Regions from separate parts of the Homo sapiens genome. Here region 2 is linked to region 1. The links are contacts of gene promoters, found by promoter capture Hi-C in human tissues and cell types (Jung and others, 2019). All regions are on one chromosome and are shown on one strand. The core of a region is centred on a gene start or on the middle of the fragment in contact, and the rest is flanking DNA. Distances in the headings are between cores, read along the strand shown. Region 1 holds the start of CACYBP (calcyclin binding protein). Region 2 overlaps PRDX6-AS1 (PRDX6 antisense RNA 1).

Region 1 (3,382 bases), core at 617-3,116:
CCGAGATTGCGCCATTGCACTCCAGCCTGGGCGACAGAGCGAGACTCCGTCTCAAACAAAGAAGTGGAAATAAATGTCCATAAACGGATGAAAGGATAAACACAATGTGCCACATGCATATAATAGAATATTATTTAGCCATAAAGAGCATGTGTACTGATACACGCTACACCATGGATGAACTTGAAAATGTTAGTGCTAAGTTGAAGGAGCCAAAAAACAAAAGGCCACATACAGCGTGACTCCATTTATATGAAATGCCTACAATAGGCAAATTCACAGAAAGTACAAGATGAGTAGTTGTCAGGGGCTGAGGGAGGAATGGGAAGCAATTGTTTAAAACACACTACATGGTTTCTTTCTGGAGTGATGAAAATGTCCTGAAACTAGACAGTGGTGATGGCTGCACTACACTGTGAATATATTTAAACAAAAAACAAATACCTGAATTGTACACTTTAAAATGGTTAAAAACTTGAATTTTATCTCAAACAAAACAAAAATCAAGTGCCCTCAAATGTATATTTCTAAGTGCCTAAACTGAGAACGATCTCTACTTTCAAGAGGACTAACACTGAGCTATCCACCTGCAAGACTGTGAAGTTATCTCCTAGGGGCACATAGTACCCAAGACCTACCTTAAAAGACTTGTCACAAGATACCCAGATTAATACTGGAACACACAAACCTCATAGTTTTTCTTCATTTAAAGAAAAGATTTTGAGTTTAAAAAACAAAAACAAAACAAAACAAAAGCTTGGGACTCCCCAGTACTTGTTTTCATAAAGCAAATCTAGTTAATACACACCCAACACTTAACTGTGAATAACTGTCCCGTCTTCACCTCCCACTTACGCCAGGAAATGAGCAATACAAGTACTATCATTCCCATTTTCTAACTGAGCAAACTAAGTCTCCACAAAATTTAATTCTCCAACGTTCAGAGTTTACAGAGCTTTAACACAGGCCATTCGCTTTCTTACTATTAATTACAACTAACTTTCCAAGTTATTTATTTTAAAAATCACATACAGCAGATTGCTGTTTGCCAATCACTGACTTAAACACCTAGAAATCATATTTTTTAACAACCCTATGAAATGGATGCTACTGCGACACAGAGAAGCTAAACAACTTGCCCAGAGTAACACAGCTCCTCGTGTGTAGAGAAAACCTGACTAGGAGAATTCAAGTGCTAGCACTGAGAACTCACCTTCCAACCGCCCTCTACCAAGAACGACACTCATGTTTGCACCCAGCTTTGCTTGAATGAAGCTTCCTGTCCACTGGCTGGGAAACCAGGGCAGAAAGGGCCTGAGGAACACGCGCAAAGGGCCGCTCTCCCAGACCCACTCCCCGCACCGCCTGCACGGATAATCGCCGCACACCCCCGCTCGAGCCCAGCAGGCGAGTGGGGTGCGAGGTCGAGTGGAAGCGCTGGGGAGCCGACGGCGCAGCAAGGGGCGAGTGAGGTGTCCCCCGGGAAGGCGGCGCACTGACTGGCGCGGGACCGGGTGGCCGCAGGGCGGCTCAGCCCACGGAAACGGCGGTAGGGCGGGAGGCTGGCGCTGCAGCTCCAGCCGGGGGGCATAAGGAATATGGGGCCGGACCACTTACCTCTTCTGAAGCCATGGGGGCTGGGTCAGGCCGAAGTCCCGAGCTGCAGCCGCGCAGAAGGAGGAACAGGAAACCCCGCGCCGAGCCCTCAAACCGAGCGCAGACGCCTACCCGCACGAGTCGCGGCGCTGCAGCCTGCGCCCACACCGACCCTGCGCAAGATCGCGGCCCGCCTCCCGCACGCGACGGATCTCGAACCTTCGCGAGGCAGCCGCCGCCACCGCCCACCGCGAGCACGCACAGCCCGCCAAGCCTGGCTCCACCCACCCTTCCTCGCCTCGCCGAGCCTAGCCCCACCCCTCCCCGCCCCGCCGAGTCTGGCTCCGCCCGCCTGCCGAATCTCCTAGCAACGCTCAAGTCTCGCGAGCGAACCGGCAATCCGAGAAGAGTAATGTCTTGCTCTCCGCCCTGACAACTTTTATGTATTATAATTTGACCGCGCTGGGCCACGCTGCGCAGTCGCAGCTCGGAACCGCTGCGTTAACCCAGCCCCGGAAATAACGTACCGATCTTCGGAGTCCAAGTCGGAAGTTGACTAGAGAGTCACCTGCTTTCGTCCGCTCTAGGACACCAGACACACCAGGCCGCCATGTTGTGTAAGGTTAGTCTCTCAGCCTCCGCGAGAAGAAGGCGAAAAATGGGGAGGAGCAGCCTGGTTACTTTCAAACGAGAAAGAACGGATATGTTAAGCGTGGAGGGCTCCTAATGGTAGCGGTTTGATTTTCAGTGAGTTTGGCGCGGTGGAGACGTCACCGCGGTCTAACAGTTCCGACGTGGTGGCGTCATCACTGGCCGCCGTAGGAGGTGGAGCTACGTTGGCCTCGTGACCGGGCCCTGTAGCGGAAGCCCAGGTCAAGGCCCTAACAAAAGGGCCCGCCTATGGCCACAGTTTCAGGCCCTCCTTTCAGTCATGGACTGTTGAAGCACGATTTCCTGGTGCTTTCGCCCCTTTCACCGACCATTTCAAGAGTCCGTAGTTCTCGCCTGGGTTTGGATTCGGTATAAGTGAGCCTGTTTACCATCAAAGAAAATGGTGAAATGTCTTCTGGAGACGATGTTCTCTTCTGGTTCTAACCCTGTCACTCAGTGAGACCCCCAGAGAAGCCTAGTTTTCAGATTATTCTAGTCCTTGGCAGGCTCAAGATGTCAACAACACGGTTGGAAACAACCCCTGAGAGGTCACATAGCGCGCACTCAGCTTTACAGATCGTCCAAGGCAGCGACCCCTGAGAGGTCACATAGCGCGCACTCAGCTTTATAGATCGTCCAAGGCAGCAATTAGAATCAGCAACTCGGAGAGGAAAAAAAGCTGTTAGCGGAATGGAGGCTGACCATTATCTGTAGTAAAGAATCGGAAGTACAGTACAAAAATAAATTACCGAAACGCAACATGCGTGAATTTCACACAAAAAAATGAAGTTGAGGGAAAGAAGCCAGACATGGAAGAGTTCATATTGCGTGGTTCCATTTAAAAACTAGCCCATGGTGTTAATGAGCATAGTGGGGAGGACAATGACATGAAAGAGCCACCAGGGGGCTTTTGAGGTTCAGGTAATGTTTCTTGATTTGGACACTGATTATAGATAGGTGGGTTCACTTTAGAAATCTCATTGAGTTGTAAACGTATATTTATGTACGTAGTTTTTTCTGTAGATTATGCTTAAGGCCCGGCGAAGGGGAATTTGCCCAGGTAATGGAAATATTACACCGATACATAGAATTGTCAAAGTTCATGGGATGAACTCCTAAGAGCTGTGTATTTTAT
Region 2 (3,382 bases), core at 305-2,804, 1.6 Mb after region 1:
GGTTTAGCATGGTGAATATTCCATGTGTGTTTGAAAAAAAAAGTTTTCTACCTTTGTTGGGTAGAGTGTTTTATAAAGGTAAATTATGTCAACTGGACATAACGTTGTTTGGGTCTCATCTGTTGGTACTGATTTTCTGTCTACTTCTATCAATTACTGTGAGAGGAAAGTCAAAGTCTCCAACTATGGTTGTGGATTTATCTAGTTCTCATTTCTGTTTCTGTTTTAAGTTTTTGGAACTTCTCTTAATAGGTGTGTACATTTAAGATTGTTATGTTTTCTTGATTAATTGAACCTTATCCCATTATGCAATATCTCTGTTTATCTTTAGTAGTATTTCTTGCTTTGAAATCTACTTTGATATTAATATAGCCACTACATTTTTTCTTTCGATTAGTGTTTGTATGGTATCTCTTCTTTCATCTTATTACTTCTATTCCCATCTATGTCTTTATTTTTAAAGTAGGTTTCTTGTAGATAGTTAGGTCTTATTTATTTTTAATCAAATTTGACAAACTCGATGTTTTAATTGGTGTGCTTAGATAATTTATATTTAATGTAATTATTGATATGTTTGAATTTATTTTATTATTGATTTTCTAGTTGTCTCCTCTGTCTTTAATTCCTCTGTTTTCCCTTTCTATTGATGTCTCACTATGTTTGCTGACTCTTTTTTTCTTTTTTCTGTATTTTGCTGTCGAACCCATCAATTGATTTCTTAACTTCACACAGTGTATTTTTTTCACTTCTAAAATTTCCATTTCATTCTTTAAAAAAATCTTTAAAAAGACTATTTTTAGAGCAGTTGTGGGTTCACAGACAAATTGAGTGAAAAGTACAGAGAGTTCCCATATGCCCTCTACCCCTACACATGCACAACCTCCCACACTGTCAACATCTGGTACCAGAGTGGTACCTTTGTTACGGGTGATGAACCTATACTGAAACCTCACTATCACCCAAAGTCCATAATTTACATAAGGGGTTTATTCTTGGTGTTGCAGATTCTGTGGGTTTGAACAAATCTATAATGACATATAGCCACCATTATAGTATCATACAGAATAGTTTCACTGCTGTAAAAATTGTCTATATTCTGCATATTCATCTCTCCTTCCCTGCTAAACTCTGGCAATCACTGACTTTTTTACTGTTTCTATACTTTTGCCTTTTCCAGAATATCGCATAGTAGGAATCATACAATATATAATCCTTTCAGATTGGCTTCTTTAACTTAATAACATGTATTTAAGTTTCTTCCTTGTATTTTCATGCCTTGATAGCTCATTCCTTTTAGAACTGAATAATGTTCCATTGTATGGATATACCACAGTGTATTAGTCAGGGCTCCGTGGAGGGACAGAACTAATAGGATAGATGTATATATGAAGGGGAGTTTATTAGGGAGTATTGACTCACATTATCACAAGGCAAAGTCACTCAATAAGCTATCTACAAGCTGAGGAGCAAGGAAGCCAGTCCAAGTCCCAAAACCTCAAAAGTAGGGAAGCCAACAGTGCAGCCTTGTCTGCAGCTGAAGGTCTGAGAGCCCTTGGCAAAACACTGGTGTAAGTCCAAGAGTCCAAAAGCTGAAGAACTTGGAATTTATTGTTTGAGGGCATGAAGCATCCAGCAGGGGAGAAAGATGAAGGCCAGAAGACCGAGCAAGTCTACTTTTCCATCTTCTCCTGCATGCCTTTATAGCTGTACTGGCAGCTGATTAGATGGTGCCCACCCAGATTGAGGGGGGGTCTGCCTCTCCCAGTCCACTGACTCGAATGTTAATCTTCTTTGGCAACACCCTCACAGACACACCCAGGAACAATACTTTGCATCCTTCAATTCAATCAAGTTGACACTCAGTATTAACCATTACACACAGTTTATTTATTCATTCACTTACTGAAGGACAGTCTTGGCTGCTTCAAGGTTTTGGCAGTTATGAATAAAGTCACTATGTACATCCATGTGCAGGTTTTTGTGTGGACATATGTTTTTAACTCATTTGAATAAATGCCAAGGGATGTGATTGCTGGATTGTATGTTAAAAATATGCTTAATTTTGTAAGATGGTTCTTTTTTTTTATAGTTTCTATTATTCTGCCAATAATTTCTGTTTTTTTCCCTTTGTTCAAGAGTGTTTATCTTTACTTTGTGGAGCATAGTTACGATAGTTGCCTTAAAATCTGTGCCTGATTATTCTACCATCTTGGTCTTCTCAGTGGTAGCATTTATTGACTGTACTTTTCATGCAAATTAGTAAACTTTTATTGGTTCTTTGTACGCTGAGTGATTTTAGATTGTATCCTGGACATTCTGAGTATTTAATTTGGATGTTTTTCATTAAAATCCTCAAGAGATTTGGAAGATTGTTTGCTTATTTGAGTAGGTAATCACACTGGTTTTGTTCAGACTATCTGTACTTTATGAGTGATACTTCCAATGTTATCTCAGTTTTCGGAACCTCTACTTGGCAGCTTTGAGTATGTTCCATGCATGCACAGCTCAGGGTTAAGCCTGGGCCTGTGCTAGGTCATACACAGAGTTAGGAGATCCATTTCTCTAATCTCTTATCTCCGGGACTCCCCATAGTCACCTACCTATATGTTTTCTATTCCTCATCCTCTGGCTCAATAGACCGGGGTTCTTTTGGAGTTTTGGCTGCCTGTGTTGCTACCAGGTCCTGTGACCAGGACCATTTTGGGTGCTATGTGGAGATGGAAAAAAGAGAGAGAAAATTTACCTACTGACTTACTCCAGTACTCTCTGGACCACAGGAGCCCTTTTCTGTTTGTTTAACTAGAAAAACAGAATTTCTATTGGGATTTTAGCCGACCATGCTACTTTTCACCCTGGCTCTGCTAGGCAAGCTGTGAAAATGGGGGAGGGAATGAGAATGCAAGGATTCCTTTCTATGTTCTTCAGCTTAAAGGATCCCAGCCTTCTTTCTAGACAGAAGGGATTTATCTGAAAGTATTAGCTGTCTGCAGCACCCCCATCGCAGCTCATTTGTGTGATTGCTTTCAGCCAAAGCCTGTGAAAAGAAAGAGGAAATAAAATGAGAAACTTAATCCTGTGCAAATTGCTGTTTCAGTTTTTGACTTCTCTTCATAATCTGACTGCATTTCTTTACCTTTCAGAGTCCTTAGGTAGTTGTTTTTTGTATTTTGTCCAGAGTTTTTAGCTGTAATCAGCAGAAGAGGTAGGCTTTATTGAATTCACTCTTGACTGTACTTTCTTTTATATTCTTTTTTCACTTCTATCTGTACTACCTCTCTCAAGATACAATGACTGACACTAATCCTATCCTTTTATTCTTTGAAGTAGAAACCATGACTATCCCTTTAAAGACCACATCTGTCACTTCAGGTATTTTTACTTG

Evidence for each region. The method cuts DNA at HindIII sites, captures the fragments that hold promoters and counts their contacts. A contact is called where the count stands out against the background at its distance.
Region 2: a contact is called between a fragment that was not itself captured here and the fragment with the promoter of CACYBP in region 1, in 1 of the 25 tissues and cell types used here (mesenchymal stem cells).

What each region holds. Positions count from the first base shown.
Region 1 is chr1:174,998,431-175,001,812 of GRCh38, reverse strand. It overlaps CACYBP (calcyclin binding protein), which reads right to left and starts at 1,866. Exons shown (of 6, transcript NM_014412.3): 1 at 1,618-1,866. The coding sequence starts at 1,632. It overlaps LOC105371622 (a long non-coding RNA gene), which reads left to right and starts at 2,167. Exons shown (of 2, transcript NR_188647.1): 1 at 2,167-2,218. RefSeq lists a silencer at 1,846-1,965 and enhancers at 1,996-2,505, 2,057-2,593, 2,536-2,745. The HindIII fragment of the contact is 5,191 bases long and covers 1,017-3,382 here.
Region 2 is chr1:173,444,969-173,448,350 of GRCh38, reverse strand. The region is part of intron 1 of PRDX6-AS1 (PRDX6 antisense RNA 1); the gene reads left to right. All of the region lies in intron 2 of LOC100506023 (a long non-coding RNA gene), which reads left to right. It also overlaps a transcript of TNFSF4 not described here. Among named protein-coding and RNA genes, the nearest start is that of PRDX6-AS1, 15 kb to the left of the region's middle. RefSeq lists enhancers at 1-42, 3,247-3,382. The HindIII fragment of the contact is 4,095 bases long and covers 1-3,382 here.